Regions from separate parts of the Homo sapiens genome. Here regions 1, 2, 3, 4, 5 and 7 are each linked to region 6. Evidence: promoter capture Hi-C in 16 types of primary human blood cells and fetal thymus (Javierre and others, 2016). All regions are on one chromosome and are shown on one strand. Each heading gives the region's core, a stretch centred on a gene start or on the middle of the fragment in contact. The rest is flanking DNA. Distances are from core to core; before and after follow the strand shown.

What was found. The method cuts DNA at HindIII sites, captures the fragments that hold promoters and counts their contacts. A CHiCAGO score of 5 or more calls a contact.
Region 1: a contact is called between a fragment that was not itself captured here and the fragment with the promoter of NXT1 in region 6, in 2 of 17 cell types (monocytes and megakaryocytes). The highest score is 8.7, in monocytes.
Region 2: a contact is called between a fragment that was not itself captured here and the fragment with the promoter of NXT1 in region 6, in 2 of 17 cell types (M1 macrophages and M0 macrophages). The highest score is 7.2, in M1 macrophages.
Region 3: a fragment that was not itself captured here is called in contact with the fragment with the promoter of NXT1 in region 6 in 2 of 17 cell types (M2 macrophages and M1 macrophages); the score reaches 5.9 in M2 macrophages.
Region 4: a fragment that was not itself captured here is called in contact with the fragment with the promoter of NXT1 in region 6 in 1 of 17 cell types (endothelial precursors); the score reaches 5.3 in endothelial precursors.
Region 5: a fragment that was not itself captured here is called in contact with the fragment with the promoter of NXT1 in region 6 in 1 of 17 cell types (naive B cells); the score reaches 6.0 in naive B cells.
Region 7: a fragment that was not itself captured here is called in contact with the fragment with the promoter of NXT1 in region 6 in 10 of 17 cell types (M0 macrophages, M1 macrophages, endothelial precursors and 7 more); the score reaches 26.0 in M0 macrophages.

The regions. Positions count from the first base shown.
Region 1 is chr20:22,677,007-22,679,706 of GRCh38, forward strand. The region is part of intron 2 of LINC01747 (long intergenic non-protein coding RNA 1747); the gene reads right to left. Among named protein-coding and RNA genes, the nearest start is that of LINC01747, 7.0 kb to the right of the region's middle. The HindIII fragment of the contact is 3,781 bases long and covers 1-2,700 here.
Region 2 is chr20:22,351,385-22,354,084 of GRCh38, forward strand. No RefSeq gene overlaps it. Among named protein-coding and RNA genes, the nearest start is that of LINC01427, 70 kb to the left of the region's middle. The HindIII fragment of the contact is 3,691 bases long and covers 1-2,700 here.
Region 3 is chr20:22,740,942-22,743,641 of GRCh38, forward strand. No RefSeq gene overlaps it. Among named protein-coding and RNA genes, the nearest start is that of LINC01747, 57 kb to the left of the region's middle. The HindIII fragment of the contact is 2,023 bases long and covers 347-2,369 here.
Region 4 is chr20:22,712,298-22,714,997 of GRCh38, forward strand. No RefSeq gene overlaps it. Among named protein-coding and RNA genes, the nearest start is that of LINC01747, 28 kb to the left of the region's middle. The HindIII fragment of the contact is 2,200 bases long and covers 260-2,459 here.
Region 5 is chr20:22,399,279-22,401,978 of GRCh38, forward strand. LOC284788 (a long non-coding RNA gene) reads right to left here. Exons shown (of 3, transcript NR_027090.1): 2 at 2,048-2,184; 3 at 1,055-1,833. Among named protein-coding and RNA genes, the nearest start is that of LINC01427, 120 kb to the left of the region's middle. RefSeq lists an enhancer at 2,597-2,700. The HindIII fragment of the contact is 1,768 bases long and covers 403-2,170 here.
Region 6 is chr20:23,349,361-23,352,060 of GRCh38, forward strand. NXT1 (nuclear transport factor 2 like export factor 1) reads left to right here and starts at 1,431. Exons shown (of 2, transcript NM_013248.3): 1 at 1,431-1,701. It overlaps NXT1-AS1 (NXT1 antisense RNA 1), which reads right to left and starts at 2,107. Exons shown (of 3, transcript XR_937384.2): 1 at 1,970-2,107. RefSeq lists enhancers at 432-1,304, 1,013-1,152, 1,072-1,366, 1,305-2,176, 2,233-2,282 and silencers at 723-852, 1,473-1,742. The HindIII fragment of the contact is 12,471 bases long and covers 1-2,700 here.
Region 7 is chr20:22,695,317-22,698,016 of GRCh38, forward strand. No RefSeq gene overlaps it. Among named protein-coding and RNA genes, the nearest start is that of LINC01747, 11 kb to the left of the region's middle. The HindIII fragment of the contact is 1,490 bases long and covers 648-2,137 here.

The DNA of each region.
Region 1 (2,700 bases), core at 12-2,511, 670 kb before region 6:
TGTGTCAGACAATTTTCCAGTGATGCCATTTAATCCCTGCAAACCTATGAGTAGGATTTTACAGTATTTGCTTTCATCCTACAGTGGTTATATATTCTTAATAATAATCACGATAATCATTATCATGGGTTGAATTATGTGCTCCCCAAATTCCTATGTTGATGTCCTAGCCCCTAGTACTTCAGAATGCTACCTTATGTGGCAATGGGTTATTTGCAGATGTAGTTAGTTAAGATGAGGCCCTATCAGAGTAATAGTAGTCATGTAATGCCACTATGTCCTTATAAACAGGGGAGGCTGGGACGCAGACACACACACACAGGGAGAGAGCCATGTGAACATGAGGGCAGAGACTGGGTGATGTGTCTGCAAAGCCAGCAATGGAAAGGTTGCCTGCAAACCACCCGGAGCTGCAGAGAGGCGTGGAACAGTCTTCCTCACAGTCCTCGGAAGGAACCAGCCCTGCCCACACCTTGATCTCAGACTTCCAGCATCGGCACGGTCAGGGTCTGTTGTTTTCGCCCCCAGGGTGTGGTACTTTGTTGCAGCAGCCCCAGGAAGTGAATGCAATAATGATCGCAGAATGGCAGTGAGCGTTTACTGAGGCACCTGCTGTTCTAAGTGCATTAAAGGCACACGGTGCAGGTCATCCTCATGGAGAGCCTGGGCAGAGGCCCTCTCACCCAGTCTAGGGATGTGGAACTCAGGTCTGGGGTGAATTCACTTCCCCTCCAACGTGCAGCTCATTGGTGGTAGAGCTACGATTTGAACGTGGCTTCAGAAACTTATAGGAACGTAAATGTTCTTCAGAGGCTTGGAAGGTGATGAGCTTATCCAGTGAGATATGGGTTTAGAAGCATCCCCTGCTGCTGGTCCTGTGCTCCTCCCTGGCTGGGTTTCTCAGAAAGGGCTGACCCATGAAAACTGAGGGCTGCCCATGTGGAGCTGGGGTTTTGGTTCTGATCCATTAAGCCCAGGGCTTTACTGGGTCCCAACACTACCCACAATCCCCGTCCCCTTGATTTTAATGAAACTCTTAGGCCGATCCACCCCGAGGAGAGTGGGCCACCACAGACAGGCAGAGTCTGAGTAGGGCAGTCAGTGGAGACAGGTTTGTCTGCAGTGACGCTGTCAAGGCTCCTTTGGATTCTTCTGACTGCCGGCGTCGCCTCCCCAGGCATCACCGAGCCTTTTCTTGCTACACTCGGCTCTGTGACTCTGCTTCAGAGGATAGCCCTTAGGCTGCTGGAGCTGCTGACAATATAGGGACAAAGTGCAGATCATTGGTTTAGTGTCTGTTACTTTTGTTTAGCCACAGTCCCATGTCTAGACAATGTCCAGGACAGTGGATTTGTCAGAGAAGGAGAGAGGGTCCGGGCTGCCACCTCACTGCCCCTTGGTGTATTTATCAATGCTAAAATCGGGAGCATTTCCCTGTCCCTCTGGACAGGGAAAGGAAGGGAGACCACCAACCGACCAGCCTCTCCGGGCCTGATGGGAGGAAGGTGTAGGGAGCTGTGGTGCCAAGTGGCCGGCCCTGTTCTGTGTGGCCCGCATAAGAAGGAGCTGCAGTCCTATCACCTCTCCTAAACTTCTTCTTGCTCACCTCAACCTCCTTAAAGCCTCCAGGGGCTACCACTGTAAAATGGGTAAAGCCTGGGCTCCTTAGCTTTATCCTCAGGGAACTCCGTAATCTCCATGCCTTTTAATCCTTAGTTCCCACTGTTCTGTTTTCCATACCCTGTTTTCCCACTGTTTCCAGTTTCCACCCTACATAGCCCCTCCATCAGGCTTTTGCTTATTCAACAGCCTCTGGTATTGAAATTATCAGGAATAATGTATCAGTTAGCTATAGCTGCATAACAAAACATCCTCATATCAATTGCATAATCCAGCAGTCATTTGCTGTTGCTCATGTGCCTGTGTGTTCTCTGGGTTCAGCTGGTCAGGGCTGGGCTTTGCCAGGCAGTTTTGCTCCAGGCTGCCTTGGCCCAGGTAGTTTTGCTCTCAGTGCTAGTCTGTGGGTGGGCAAGGAGGGCTCGACTCCACCATGCTTGTTTTGAGCCAAGGCTGCAGCACAGTAGTGACCCAGGGGGACTTCTCCTCATGTCATTGGCAGAAAAATAAGAGGGAACGTGGAAACACACAAGGCTTCTTGATTCCTAGGCTCAAAACCGGAAAACAATCCCTTCTTCTAGAGGCTATTGGTGAAACAAAGTTGAATGCTCCAGCCCAAAGTAAAGGGGCAAGAAAATAGCTCACACCCACCTTACCTTGGAGAGGGTGTGGATGCAGGAGAGATGAAGATTTACGGCAAATAATGCCTCCTACCACAAGAGGTGACAATAGCAAATAGCACAGTAGTAGCAGAGACAATCACACGTGCTGTAAAGTACTTACCATGTGTTAGCCCCAAATTATAGGATTATCAGCAGTGTTGATTCTCACTGTTGCCCTGTAGGAGACCACCCGAGGCTTCTAATGGTTCCTAACATCCCCTAAGACCGCACAGTTTTTAATGACAGAATCTTGAACTGAGCTGAAGATTTGTCTTTGTGGATCTGAGCCCAGAATTTGGAAGCTGCAGTTTGACTCCAAAGTCCAATTCATGTCAAAATCTTACCTCTCCTTCAAAGTCTCCCTCAAATGTTGGCTTCCTCATGAGCCATTTCTCAATTTAGTACAGGTTGAATTTGCAGA
Region 2 (2,700 bases), core at 106-2,605, 1.0 Mb before region 6:
TGTATATTTTGACTGTGAGTCAATTTGAAAGCAGCAATTTAAAACCCACTTGAATGCTTAGTTTAGCCTAAACAACGACTACAACATAAGAACAATTCTACAATCAAATTAGTAGTCAAATAACCAACGGCAAGTGGAAAATTGGTCATCGTGTTATTCTTCTATAACCTAATTCAAAATGCAACATTTAAAAATGTAAATCTCTCTTTTCAATGTTAAAGAAGCATCGATGAATATTTCTATGAGTAGGAAAATATTTATTAAAATAGTGGCCACATATTGGGACTGATCTTAGTCTTTTAACCGTCAACTCTTGGAAGAGACATCTGGGCCGGTTGGAGCCCAGGGGCAATGGAAAATAGAATGCGAAATACCAGCCATCTGTGATTGGCCCTTACAAAGAGGAGGAAACATAGTCCCAATGCCATCCACTTACAGACCTAGAGAAGAAAGTCATTGATCAAGTATTTCATTGGAGAAAAGTTGTCACAAATATGTTGATTAATGGAGACTAATTTATTTGATATGGAAGTTTGTTTTTCCCCCCTTTTTTGATGATGTTCGTCTTGATGAAGTTCTAGCTGTTCATTTTTAATGAGAAATGGTTAAAAGTTAAACTAACTTGTCTTACGTCTCCTCACATTTTTTTTCTGTCTACCTTCACTTCTTCAATTCTATGCAGTCTTAACTGAGCCAATTTGTACATATTTTCCATGGTGATATCAAATCCACAGAAGAATTAATAACTATGGAATTTTAGAAGCCTTGCAAAATAGAGCAAGTGAGCTGAGGGTGACCTCTGGAACTTCCATGTAAGGCTTAACTTGGGCTCATGGCCTGGAATGAACCAGCTCATAATGTGACACTTTTATAACCTAATAAACATGACTCCTAGGAACAAGTTCCAATCACATCAAACAAAAAGCTGTATATGGGGTTTCGGAAGTCCTACTTTCTGATCCCACAACTATCATATCTAAATTTTTAAACTGGACGAGTCACTCGATCTCCATGAGGCAAATCTCCCTTCCCTGTTACATGAGAGTTTAACTCACAGCACCTAGGTCACCTCTAGCACAAAAATATTATGATCCTAAACCTTATTCCTAATTGAGATCTGGATGGAGGGTGTTCCAAATCCACCAAATTCAGGAAATTATGTGAATTTCTTTGTAAAACAGTGAAGTCTGCCTGATTAACTATGATTCTCATTCATTTCCACCATTACCTACTTTGATAGCTAAATTTGTTTGTACCTTGAGAAGTCTTTTTCCACCTAAAGTTCTTTCTCTTGGAGGGCTAGAGAGAAAGTGAGGTCCAGTTCTCTGGGAGTTAAATTCCGTTTACGAAACAGCAATCTCTCTAGGAGTCATACTTCTCAGGACTATTCCATTTTCTCAAAGCACGTATGCACAATTTGAAAATGTCTGAAGTCACAGTTTCGATGGTTGTTTCCACAAGGAGAGCTATGGCCTATGAAATAAATGTCTGAGTCAGATTGGAAGAGAAAATGGAGAATGATGATTGACAAATATACTGATTTTGGAATAACACTTATTCTCTGCCTTCATGTCCAGGTCAATATTAGAATAATAATAATACTTTTCTTCATAATTTTGGAGGTATTAAATGTGCAATGTACGTGAAGACTTAAAAAAGTAAGGTGACAAGAATTCCTAGTTGTTATAATGTAGTCATCCCTCAGCTCAGGTCCTGGGCTACAGTTTTTGCTTAGACACTTTTGGTGACTATAGGAAGCTGCAAGTTCTTTGTGGTATATTTGCAGAATATATTTACAACTTTTGAAACTGGAATTACTTCATGATATCCATCAGTAGACAACCTTGTGAAGTAGATAAGACAGCTATTATAATTTCTGTTTAACAAGTCAAATTTCTATTTAACCAGTTAAATTTCCATTTCACAATGGAGATTCAAAGGGGTTAAGTGACTTGCCTAAAGTCACAGATCTGGTGGCAGTAGGACCAGAGGTAGATTCTAGAATTATGCTTCTCATTAAACCTCTTCTCTCTCATTTTTTGTATTTCTTCGCAAGGGCTTCAAACATCATTTCGTGAGTGTTTGAAGATTGACCTAGGGTCTTCATGATTACTCATCAGAGGCCCCTGCTGATCTTTTTACTGAAGTTTATATAAGAGAGAAATTTTAAAATCATTTCTTATTTACTTTTAAATATATTAGCAGTGACCCTGTGCTATCCAGATGAGTATAGGTGGTTTTCATCTTCATCTTGGGTTGGTTGCTGAACATGCACGTGCCCAGATCTGGAGGCACACTGCAGCATGGCTGGTTAGCTTTCACAAGGCTTCAGCTCAAAGTTCATGCTCCAGCTAAGGGAGCCTTGGTTCTCTCAGTTGGCGCTAAAATTTTGCTTCCCAAATTTGAATGTGCAGATGAATCATCTGGAGATCTTGTAAATTATGACTCAGCATGTCTGGGATGAGGTCTGCAATTCTGTATTTCTAACAAGTCCCAGGTGACATGGATGTCATAGGTCTGAAGACCAAATTTTGAGTTTCATGTTAGATATGTCATTAATCATAGGGATATCACAATTAGTGTTTCTCTGATAAAATAAATGGTGTTCAATAAACATCTAGCATTGCTTGACTGGGGTACAAGAATCTGGCAGGGCTTAGAGCTGAATTCTCTTCCCAATAGACATGAGACCTCATATTC
Region 3 (2,700 bases), core at 108-2,607, 610 kb before region 6:
CTTTGACAAAGATATGCAGATGACAAACAAGGATATGAAAAGATACTGCACATCATACGTCATTAGGGAACTGTAAATAAGACAATAATGAGACATCACTATTCATTAGAATAAAAATCCAAAACACTGACACCACCAAATATGGCGAGGATGTTGAGCAACAGAAACTCTCATTCATTGCTGCTGAGAATGCAGAATGGTACAACTACTTTGCAAGATGGTTTGGTGATTACTTACAAAACTAAACATACTCAACATGGAATTCAGCAGTTGTGATCCTAGGTATTTGCCCAAATGAGTTGAAAACTTATGTCTACACTAAAACCTTCACACAGATGTTTATGGAAGCTTTATTCATAATGGCCAAAACTTTGAAGGAACCAAGATGTCCTTCAGCAAGTGAATGGATAAATAGATTGTGAAACATTCAGACAATGGAATAATATTTAGCACTTAAAAAATGAGCTATTGAGCTGTGAAAAGACATGAAGGAACCTTAAGTGTATATAGCTAAGTGAAAGAAGCCAATCTGAAAGGGCTACATAGTGAATGATTCCAACTACATGACATTCTGAAAAAGGTAAAACTATGTGGATAATGAAAAGATCAATGATTGCCAGGGGTTGAGGAGAGGGAGGGATGAATAGATGGAGCACAGATAATTTTTAGGGCAGTGAAAACTGATCTGTAGAATACTACAGTGTTGGATATATGTCTATTGAATACAAATCTATTGAATATACAGCACCAAGAGTGAACCCCAATGTAAACTATGGACTTTGGGTGATAATGATGTATCAGTGTAGGTTCCTGGATTGTAACAAATGTACTGCTTTGGTGGGGGATGTTGATAGTGGAAGAGACTGCGCAGATGTGGGAGTGAGGGGTGTATAGGAACTCTGTACTTGTCTATTCATTTTTCAGTGAATCTTAAACTTCTCTAAAAATAAAGTTTGTTAAAAAAATAATGTCTCAGCCCTCTCATTTTAAGTATAGGGCAACTGCTGGCTAATAACTCAGCCTCATACTGTACTGAGAAACTGAAAGCAACTCCTCAGTTGGTAATAGCCTCAAGGTACCACCCATATATCGGCTGGCATCTGGGCCAAGCCTTTTTTTCTTCTTCCGCTCCTGGGATAGTTTCATGGAAGCCAGCCCCTTCTGACATGGCCTGAACCACATCTATTCTCATAGCCTCAGGACCTCCCTCCTTTAGTTGTTCCCTTTCTCCTGAAACAATGCCCTCTTTTCTTTACTAGACCATTCCCATCAGCAGGTAAACATATTCTAGTATCTTCCATGCAGAAAAGATTTTTCCTGGTCTCATATTTCTCCCGAGCCAGCGCTGGTTCTTCACTCCCTATGTTATAGCTTCTCAAGGGTTCCATCTGTTCATACTCACCTCTCATTCTCTTGTCAGCTCACTCCATCACTCCATTAAGACTCTACATGGAGGCCGGGTGCAGTGGCTCACACCTGTAATCCTGGCACTTTGGGAGGCTGAGGCAGTTGGACCACCTAAGGCCAGGAGTTCAAGACCAGCCTGATCAACATGGTGAAACCATGTCTCTACTAAAAAAATACAAATAAAATAAAAAAAAAATTAGTCGGACAAAGCAGTGGCACTTGCCTGTAATCCCAGCTACTCAGGAGGCTGAGGCAGGAGAATTGGTTGAACCCGGGAGGCAGAGGTTGTGGTGAGCCAAGATCGCACCACTGCACTACAGCATGGGCAACAGAGCCAGATTCCATCTCGAAAAAAAAAAAAAAGACTCTTCATAGACACCAAGATCTTTGTGTTTCTAAATTCAACAGCCACTTTCTATTATTCCACATAATCTTAGCAACAGTTGAGCAACCACTCAGCAACTACTGCCCTCTTCCTGTAATACTTTCTTTCCTTGGTAGATCCCCTACCTCCTTGAGTACTTTTTCCTTATACTCTCCTCTACTCATCCTCCAAATGCTGAAGTGCTCTTTCCTGGGCACCCTTTCCTTCTTTATCTGCAAACTCTCTGAGTGACAATATTTAGGCCTCAGACTTCAAATCCTCTACATGAAAAGACTCCAAAATTTCCACCCGCTCCTCTCACCTAAACCCATAAACCCAAATCTTCATGGATGTCTATAGGGAACATGTCTGTAATGGCCCAAACAGAACTCCAGGTGTATTCCCCCAATCTACCTAGAATATTTATCATTTCATTTCTGCAAACAATATCCAAAATTGATTCATTTTTTGCTAAAGCCAAAAGTCTATGCAACCTCTCTGAATTCTCTTCTTCTTTCACACCAGTAAGTCTTCCTTTCCTTACATATATAGATATCCTGAATCCTTCACTTCTGTGAATTCTCACTACCTTAGTCCAAGCTTCTAGAACACTGGAAGAGTCTGTAGTCTCCTAAGGCATATACTGATTCAGTCATTGCTCTGTATGTTTTAATCCCACAGAGACACAAGGAGATTTTTTAAAAGCATGGATCACATTGCTTTCCTACTTCAGACTTTCCAACAACCATGTCCCATTGCTTAGAATGCAGTCCAAGCACTTATCTGGGTTCACTTACTCTACTTGGTCTCACCCTTGTCCTCCCTTCTGATCTTGTCTCCAAGTTGCAGCTTCAGCAGCCTACACCACCACAAGCCCGTGCTTGTTTCTAGGCTTAGCACTAGTTATTTCCTCACCAAGGAATGCCATT
Region 4 (2,700 bases), core at 110-2,609, 640 kb before region 6:
AGGGCCCATGCATGGTGTTTGGGGCAGGGTCTGGTGGAAATGTTTTAGGCAAGAAATGAAACCCACTAACCCTGACCCTCACTTCTTTGAATAATAAAGAGAAGTGACTTCTAGATAAGATGACTATATTTGCTATCTATGTTGTATAACAAATTACTCCAAAATTTAGGTGATTAATACAACAAATATTTATTATCTTTGTGGGCCAGGAATCCATTTGTGGCTTAGCTGGGTGTGTCTGATTCAAGGGCTCTCATGAAGCTTCAAATTGTGGGCCAGGGCTGCAGTGTCATCTGAAGGTCTGATGAGTTGGGAGTGGGTGAAGCTCACTCATGTGGCTGTTGGCAGGCTCGGCTCCTTGCCATGTAGGCTCCCTGTACAGGGCTGACTTACTACCTGCTGCCCTGGGGTGAGCAATCCAAGAAAGGGAGGAGAGGGGGCGGGGGGAGGGAGAGAGAGAGAGAGAGAGATCGATCAAGACAGAAGCCACAGTCATTTTTTAAAAAAAATTATCTTTAAGTTCCAGGGTACATGTGGAGGATGTGCAGGTTTGTTACATAGGTAAATGTGTATTATGGTGGTTTACTGCACCTATCAACCCATCACCTAGGTATTAAGCCTAGTATTCATTAGCCACTTTTCCTAATGCTCTCTCTCCCCCAACCCCACCCCACTACAGGCTCCAGTGTGTGTTGTTCCCCTCCCTGTGTCCATGGGTTCTTGTTGTTGAGCTCCCACTTATAAGTGAGAATATGTGGTGTATGGTTTACTGTTCCTGTATTAGCTTGCTGAGGATAATGGCTTCCAGCTCCATTCATGTCTCAGCAAAAGACATGATCTTGTTCCTTTTTATGGCTGCATAGTATTCCATGGTGTATATGTATTACATTTTCTGTATCCAGTCTATCATTGACTGAGTATTTGGGTTGATTCCAGTCTATCATTGACTTTATTCAGTCTATAATTGACTGGGCATTTGGGTTGATTCCATGTTTTATTATTGTGAATAGTGCTGCAATGAACATACGTGTGCATGTATCTTTGTAACAGAATGATTTATATTCCTTTGGGTATATATTCGGAAATAGAATTCTTGGAGCAATTGGTGTTTCTGGTTCTAGATCTTTGAGGAATCACCAGACCGTTTTTTCACAATGGTTGAACTAATTTACATGCCCACCAACAGTGTAAAATTGTTCCTATTTCTACACAACTTTGCTGCCATCTGTTGTTTCTTGACTTTTTAATAATTGCCATTCTGACTGGCATGAGATGGTATCTTACTGTGGCTTTGATTTGCATTTCTTTAATGAGCAATGATATTGAGTTTTTTTTTTTTTAATACGTTTGTTGGTTGCATGAATGTCTTCTTTTGAGAAGTGTCTGTTCATAACCTTTGCCCACTTTTTGATGGACTGGTCTGTTTTTTTCTTGTAAACTTGTTTAAGCTCCTTGTAGATTCTGAATATTAGACCTTTGTCAGATGGATAGATTGCAAAACTTTCTCCCACTCTGTAGATTGCCTGTTCACTCTGATGATAGTTTCTTTTGCTTGCAGAGGCTCTTTAGCTTGATTAGTTCCCATTTGTCAATTTTTGCTTTTGTTGCAATTGTGTTTGGCAATTTTGTCATGAAATCTTTGCCCATGCCTATGTTCTTAATGGTATTGCCTAAGTTTTCTTCTAGGGTTTTTACAGTTTTGGGTTTTACATTTAGGTTGTTATTTCATCTTGAGTTAATTTTTGTATAAGGTGTAATGAAAAGGTCCAGGTTCAATTTTCTGCATATGTTTAGCCAGTTTTCCCAGCACCATTTATTAAATAGGGAATTCTTTCTCCATTGCCTATTTTTGTCAGGTCTGTCAAAGATCAGATTGTTGTAAATGTGTAGTTTTATTTATGAGTTTTCTATTCTGCTCCATTGGTTTATGTGTCAGTTTTTGTACCAGTACAATGTTGTTTTGGTTACTGTAGCTTTGTAGTATAGTTTGAAATCTGGTAGTGTGATGCCTCCAGCTTTGTTCTTTTTGCTTAGGATTGTCTTGTCTATACAAGCTCTTCTTTGTTTCCACAGGAATTTTAAAATAGTTTCTTCTAATTCTGTGAAGAATGTTAATGGTAGTTTGATGGGAATAGCATTGAATTTATACATTTCCTTGGGGAGTATGGCCATTTTTATGATATTGATTCTTCCTATCCATGAGCATGGAATGTTTTTCTATTCTTTTATATTTTCTCTGATTTCTGTGAGCAATGGTTTGGTTCTCCTTGAAGAAGTCTTTCACTTCCCTTGTTAGCTGTATTCCTAGGCATTTTATTCTCTTGGTAGCAATTGTGAATGGGAGTTCATTCATGATTTGGCTGTCTGCTTGCGTGTTGTTGGTGTATAGGCATGCTTGTGACTTTTGCACATTGATTTTGTATCCTTAGAGTTTGCTGACATTGCTTATCAACTTAAGAAGCTTTTGGGCTGAGACAATGGGGTTTTCTAGATATTGGATCACGTCATTTGCAAACAAACACAATTTGGCTTCATCTCTTCCTATTTGAATACCCTTTATTTCTTTCTGTTGCCTGATTGGCCTACCCAGAACTTCCAATACTATGTTGAATAGGAGTGTTGAGAGAGGGCATCCTTGTCTTGTGCCAGTTTTCAAGAGGAATGAAAGCCACAGTCTTTTTACAACCTACACTAGAAAGT
Region 5 (2,700 bases), core at 37-2,536, 950 kb before region 6:
ATGAAGTAATGCTGGTAGTGATACACAGCACCCAGTCCATAGCAGGGGCTTGGTAAGGCTGGATACCTGCCCTGGCTAAGTGGGTTTTTCATATTTTCTTCCACCTTTCTCTATATTCTGTAATTATTGGCTCTTCCCAAGTCCTGCCCATATTCCTCTATATGTGGTCCTTGGAAATGAGGTATCTAGGCTTGAATGAGGCCTTCAGATGTGATCTTCAGGTCTCAGAATGGTAAACTTACTCCAACTTGCATCTGAGGCTTAATAGTATTCATGCAATCCAGAATCTTGCTAGGTGTTTGGAGAACCACACAATCCCTTCAACCTACAACAATGCTGCAAAGGGAGAAGCTTCCAGGTGCTTTCCCTGGACCTGAAGGTTTGCTGAATCATGGATCCTCAAGCTTGCGTTCGTGCGTTTGTGCTGGGATCCAGCACAGAACCTAACATTGGGTTCTGTTAAATATCTTATCACTTTTCTTCTAAAGAAACTTTGGAGACTCTTCATGACCTACAGAATAAAATCTAAACTTAGAAAACTTGTTGTCTGATTTCCCTGCTCTGCAGCAGGGATTCCCAGAGGTAAGTGGATGCCCCTTGCACTTCCAAGCCCACTGTTAATGACATGCATGGTTGTGCCACTTGTGGTCTGGCTAATTGCATATATTCGCCTCTCTCCTAGACTGTGAGCTCCACAAGAAATTTTGTTCTCCCTTGTGGGCCACGATGCCTAGTACAGCATAGATAACCAACAAATATTTACCAATTTTAAGTCAGGATTTGATCCTGACACCTGCTCCCTTCACCTGGGTGGAATCGGTTGGAGATGGCCCATGGCCTGCTTGGAGTTCACGTTCATGTTGCTTTCCATGGTTCCTCAGGGGCCTATGCAATTCTTTTTGAAAGCTCATTTTGGCTCCATAACACTCTAGATGTCAGGTTTTGCTTCCTTTTGTTTTTTTTCTCTAACAGCTTCATTGAGATTTGATTCATATACCATAACATTTACCTGTTTAAAGTGTACCACTCAGTGGTTTTAGTGTATTCACAGACTCATGCAACCATCACCATACCAATTTTAGAACATTTTAATCACCCCACAAAGAAACCCCATGGAGGGGGCAGGCATTCCCCATTCCTGCCCTCCACCCCCACCCCAAGCCCCTGGCAACCACTAGGTGCCTCCTCCAAGCAGTTCATATAAATAGACATACAGTACATGTGCTTTTGTGACTGGTTTCTTTCACTGAACATACTGTTGAGAATCAGCCATGGTGTGGTATACATCAGTTCTTTGCTCCTTTTGACTGCTGGGTAATATCCCCTTGTATGGATGGACACGCCACATGTTTTGATCCATTCGTCAGTGGATGAACACATGGGTTGTTTCTACTTTTTCTGGCTATCACTTTCAGTGCTGTCTGGATATAGTCCAATGAGGGTCACAGGAGAACAAGTAGAGGGTGATTTTTAAACGTGAGTAAATGATGCACACAGAGGTGCGTTTTAGGCCAGTGATGGTGCATAGTTTGCAGCATGCACACTGCCAGGCCCATACCCTCTTCTGGGTTCTCAAATCCCTTTTCTATGAAGATTATTTCTTCCCTTCTTAGTTAATTTCCTTAGATTCGATAGGCATCAATAGTGTGCTGTGGACGAATTCCGCCTTCTGAAAGCTCTGTAACTGGGACTCTATGAACAACTCGGGTGCAGAGAAGGATGAGCCTGTTGAGTGTGCAGGATCCTTTACTCAGCCTTGAGCCTCTCTATTCACTGGCATTTTACAGTCACTTCAGGCTGGAAGCCATGCTGTGTGCGGTACTCCCAGTTCACCTGTATGTGAACACAGGACACTGAGGAAAAGCATTTCAACAGCCTGACTTCCTCAGATACATACAACCTCTCCTCCCACCCCACACAAACTTGATTTTACTCTCCTTCCAGTGAGGGCAACATGTCAATCTCTTTTCAAACCCCACGTGGAAAGCCTGGCTACAGTTTTGGTAACAATGAGGTACTTTCTTCTCATTTATGTTAGCACTCTTACCTGCTTAGCCTCAAAAACCCCCAGTATAACCTTGCCTGAAGAAGTCGCTAAGGATGCTGGCATTATTTGTAAATCGATTGCAAATGGTACTCAGATATGAAGTTCTTCTGCGGTCTTCGTTAAAGCTTTGTATTATTCTATGTGAATATAAATAGATAATTATTTACTTAAAAAATATTTTGTGGGCTATAAAGGTAAATGCATAAACAGGTCCTACAAGAATATTCTTTATTTTTGTAATTAAAACTATTCATTTCTGCCAAATTTTCTTCACCTTTTATTTCATTCAGAATATTATTATTATTATTATTTGCTCTACTGTGGGCAAAGTTTCTAGAATAGCTCAAATTAAAAATATGTATATACTCCCTCACCCCCTTACTCTATTTATGCCATCAACTTTTCTCCATAAAAGAATCTCATTTTATGCTTTCATTTTCCACATTGAACTTTTGGGTACAAGAAAGTGGGGGTGAAATATGAGTTCAGATGCCTGCAATTGTCTTGGAATATTTTTCTGCACACTCAAAAGCCTCCATTATGAACAAAGTCTGATGTTCGTTCACCCAGTGATGAATGCTGACTTAGCCTGAGAAAAAACTAATTAAAAATGTTGTGGAAAATGCAAACGTGGTTGATTTAAACAGCCAAAA
Region 6 (2,700 bases), core at 181-2,680:
CTCCCCCAATAAGTTATGTGAAACAAATTAAAGGGGCTTATTATACAGGAAACAAAAGCAGCACAGCATCCAAACTACTGAGCGTGCAGTAAATCAACGCATTCCCACTTCCATTCCATCCACGCTGATTTAGATCAATCCAAGTATCACTGCCTTGGGGTTCAAAAGGCCATGTTAGTTCACAAAGCCCCGAAAATGCTCTTTCACACTCTCTGCTCAGCCTCCAACGTGTCTTTTTAATAATCCAAACTTTCCACCTACTTAACTGAAGTGTGTGGGGGGAGAGGGTGCGGGGGGGAAGGGGTGGCCTATACTAAATAGCCCAACTGTTTTCCACTTGTCCTGAAATCTGAGACCAAGATTCTCTTAGGAATGCAAGCAAAGGGAGCCGACGGGACGCCAAGAAAGCACAGGTTAAACTACCTCACTTCATCTAGCCCCATTTCTCTCCTGGCTTTTCAATTAATTATTCAGCCTCAGACCAGCAGATGGAGCTGAAAATGTTGTCTAAAGAAATGAGGTTTTTCTTTTAATTTACAAGCTATAGTTTCTCATGCCTCCACACTGAATGGTTACATCCTGTTGAGCCTGTTCGTAAAGTTCAGTAAAAATCCAGTTCTCATTCCAGAACAGCTGAATCGTAGCTATGAACGCGGAAGAACAGAGTCCCAACCCCAGCCGGGCCCGGGTTTCCCGGGGCCCCTCAAGCCTCAGGGCAGTGGAGAGCCGCCGTCACGCCCCCGCCTCCCCCACGTCCCACCCTCGCCCCAGTCTCCTCCCACTTTTAGCTACTTTTCCCATCTGACTAAAACTGGCTTCCTCCGTGTCCACCAAGATGTCGCCTCTAAGTGGCCTAACTCCTAAAGAGCGCGATCGGCTCAAGCACTCCGCCACGCGGTTTCCACGGGGCGCGGCCGGCGTTGCCCTCGCCGTGGCCTCAAGCATTGCGGCGCCCCACATGTTGCCAGACGGAAGGCCTCGGCGGGGTCAGGCAGCTGCTGCTGGCCGTGACTACATCACTGGTGACGTTTCACGAGACTTTTAACTGAAATCACTCCAATACAGGCGCATGCGGGACGAGGGGAAAGCATCTCACCCGACCCCACACACCTTCCCCTCCCTCTCCAGCCTAGCGGCCTCCGCTCAGCGGAAAAAAAAGCAGACGCTACTCCCCGCTCTAGGTGCGGGACCTAAGAGGTTTGGCCCAATCAGGCATCCCACCTAACCAGACGGGCCGGAGTCTGTGGCCCGGTTGGACCAACGAAAACTCTAGGGCGGATTTGCCGGGATTTCTGGGAAAGTGACACTCCCGGAAGCTACCGCCTCTTATAAGCCACACATGGGCGGAGTTAGCCTTCCGGCCCGCAGTCCCACTGGCTGACTTCGCTGCCCGTCACGGGAATGCGGGAGAGGGCGGCGCCGGGGCGCTCGCGTCTGCGTGGAGACCGGCTGGCCGCGCGCGGGAAGCCGCGGAACTGCGCCGGAAAGTCCCCCGGCTCTGGGGCCCCGGTGACCCAGAGTAAGCCTCCAAGAAGGAGGAGGAGGAGAGAAAGGCGGCTCTTCCCGTGCCCCTACCAGAGGCTTCGGTGGGCCCACCTTGTGACCTCCGCGGCCGGCCCCTCAGTGGAACTGCGTCCCACGCGGGGGGCGTCCCGACCGTGGGGGCCGCGGCCCGCGCTGACCCTGGACGTCGCCGCGCAGGTACGTTGCCGTCCCCCGGCGGTCTGACCCCCGAGACAGCCCCTAGTGCATACCCCACGCCCTCCTCCATTGTCGAGAATGAGACACGGCTGTGCCTTTGTCCACGTGGTAGAGTTGCCGCCGCGGTGAGGCTCTCGCCTGTGCAAAAAGCGTGGCAGCGAATTCTCATCAACGAGGGGAGGCGCGTCCCCTCACAGCGCAGCTCTCGGGTCTGAGGAGGGCCGGGCAGGGCGTGCGTCTGTCTAGGTTTGAATTAAAGGCGACTCACAGGAAATAAGGCCATGCCACTGTGGTAGCTTTTCCCGTCCATCTCCGGACACTCGACGGTGTGGGTCGTGCGAGGAGGCGGCAGTCTTCACAGCCTCTTACTCTAGTCCTCACGGTCAGGTTCTTTTTCTGATTTGACACAGACAGCGGGACTGACGACCTCATAGGTAGCTGAAAACCGTAAGTGGAGATGGTCCTTCTATGGTGTGTGGGGGCGTGGCCAGTTGTTAGATTGTGTTTGGAAAGACAGCCAGGGGCGGAGAAGAGGGGCATTTCTGAGATGATGGGGGGACTGGTGCCATGGAGGGAGGAGGAGTGAGGTGGAGATCGGGAATTCCAGCCAAAGAGAAATGGGGTCCCTGGGAGAAAATTCCCACTCTAGCAGTCCTGGAGTTGTGCTCATGGAGACTTGCTTACGCGAGTACAAGGACAGCGTTGTATTGACAAAATTTCAGCCCTCAGTCTAGTCTTGTAAACGATAGATCAGGAGTGTACTTAACCGTCGTTACTTTGATCCAGCCCTAGGTTTCCCTTTTCTCATTTGTAAAATTGTTATAGTAATACCTTTTTCATCCATTTGTGGTAACATTTAAATGAGGTAATTTGTGTGAAGCCCTTAGCAAACACAGCGCTTCTTAGTCGTGGGTTCCGCGTGGGGTGGATTCAACCAACCTCAAATCAAAAATATTCTTCAGAAAAAGAAAAATGCGTTTGTACTGAACATGTAGAGGC
Region 7 (2,700 bases), core at 143-2,642, 650 kb before region 6:
GTTGCTGCTGCCTTTCTGTCCTCTTCCAACTTATTTCCCCAAACGCAGGCCAGCGCTGTTCAATAGAACTTCGTGCCATGATAGAAAGATTCCATAACTGCTTGTGCAAAATGATAGCCACCTGCCTCGTGTGGCTACTGAGCACTTGAAATCTAGCTGCTGCAACTAAGGACGTATTTTTTTAAACTTTATTTAACAGCAGTTAAAGTTTAAAAATTAAAATGGAAATAGCCATGCACAGCTAATGACTGTTGTAATGGATGATGCTGTTCTAGATGATTAATGATCCTGGCTTGCTGTCATTCTCTCCAATATTGCATCTATCTTCATTCTTAATAGTTTCAGTGTGTGCACACATGATTCTTTGTAGAACCTGGCCTCTCAGTTATTGAACCCTGATTCTTCACCCATCCTATCCTCCACTCACTTTTATCATTGATTTGAGATGTCATTAGCAATAACTACAGCTCTGCTACTATCTTACTTTTAAGGACTTCCCTTTCTGACCATATTTCTAGTTTACTTTCTCTAGAATTCTAAGGCCAGCAATCCTGCAAGCCTACTAGGATATTCATCCCATTGATCCTACCACATTTCACCTTGTTGGTCCTGAATATTTTTATATTATTTTAATACAAAAAAATTAAAGCTTTGTTCTGGGATGTAGGTAAGGGGACAGAGGCTGGGTGCTGTGATGAGAGCCTGTAGTCCCAGCTGCTTGTAAGGCCGAGACAGGTGGATTGCTTAAGCCCAGGAGTTCAAATCCAGCCTAAGCAACAAAGTGAGACCCTGTCTTAAAAAAAAAAATAAGAAAACAATTTTTGATCTTTTAGGATCTTGCTTTTAAGTTTTGCTCAATAAGGCCAGAGTAGCCCGATTTTGCCCCTCTGTTGAGATAATAACCTTCTGAGTACTCTACTGATGCCTGTGTGTTAGGAGGCTTTGCAGAAGAGCAGTGGTAAAACACTCGCTGTTTTACCTGCATGAGTGCTGCAGGCTGTCCCCTCCTCTCCTTTCTGATGGTTCTTCTTCAGCCTTGCCCACTTGCCTCACACTCAAGTATGCTCTGCTGAAGACCTATAGAGGACTCTGGGCCCTCTGTGGCCGTCTGTGGATCTCTGCAGCCCTCTCCGGCCCTCTGCAGCTCCACGAGGCCCTCTGTGGCCCTCTGCAGTCCTCTGTAACCCTCTGTGACTCTCTGTGGCCCTCTGTGTCTCTCTGTGGCCCTCTAGCTCTCTGTGCCTCTTTCAGTCTTCTAGAGTTCTCTATCTATGCAGTGGACCTCTCTGGGATTCTACCGCTGTAGCCTCCCCAGATTCCCAGCTCCATCTTCTAAACTCAGGGAGATCACTGGGTCCTGTACATATGTGTACACACACACACACACACAGAGAGAGAGAGAGAGAGAGAGAGAACCAGTTATTTAGTTCTTTAAGATGGGAGGGTAGCTCTGATTCCTGTTACTCCATCTTTGTTGGAAGCAGAAATCCTCCTTTCTACTATTCCTCACCCCCACTTTCCCAGCTCCAATCTCGTGGTCAGTCACTATCAACACCACCTTGCTCCTCTCTCCTCCTAGCTTGGCAACCCACAACCCTGGTGAAATCAAATCTGCCTACTCCTTGCCTACTTTGGTGCAGCTGAACATGCCTGCAGGGAAGCACACACCACGGCCGCATGTCTGGCTTCAACTTCATGGCTGTGAAAACCTGAGGCCCTTCATGCTGCCTGGCAGTGCCGTTGCATGTCCCTCCTCTCTCATGTTCTCTAAATGGCCATGTCACACCTTCTCTTCTCTTCTCTTCTCTTCTCTTCTCTTCTCTTCTCTTCTCTTCTCTTCTCTTCTCTTCTCTTCTCTTCTCTTCTCAATTCCCCATATCTCTTACCCCATTCTCTCTCTCAGCTTCTACCTTTACTGGAAAAATTTAAGTAACCAGATAAGTTCCAAAGACAGTCACTGCCACCTTTACTCATCCACCTTTCTTTGCACCTTCACTTCTGCCTTCTTGCCTCTTTCGCAAAGTAACACCACCTTTCTCTCTAGTGCACGAGGTCTCAGCTTTGTTAGGGATTCTACCCTCTCTCTCCTACGTTGCCAGCTGTTGGCTTTGTATTGGATCATTCCCATCACTCAACAAGCTTATATAATTTCTCTCATCTGAAGATCACTCTCATGACCCTTCTTCCTCCAGCTTATGTACATTTCTTTGCTTTCCATTTGAGACAAAACTCTGAAAGATGTCACTTGCTGTCATTAATTCATTGCTTCCCACTTTCTTTTGATTCCACTCTCATCAGACTAGAATCCTTGAACTCAACTAACTGCTCTTGTCAAGATCACCTTGACCTCCATGTTGCTGAAGCCAAAGGTCCATTCTCAGTCCTCATCCGATTTGACCCTTCAGCAGCATTGGAAAAGATTTATTGAGTGCTTCCAACTCCTTGAAACATTTTCTGCATTTGGCTTCTAGGACACCACACACTGCTTTGTTTTCTCTGTCACCTTTGCCAGTTTCTCCTTTGTCCATGACCTTGTAATGTCAGCTCTTTGTCTTCTTTTTAAAGACACTCCCCTTTGATGACCCCATTTTGTCTCATAGCTTTAAATACCATTGGTATGCTATAACTTCCATGTTTATATTTTTAACCTAAATCTTTTCCTAAATTCCAGATTTATATACCCAACTGCCTACTCAACCT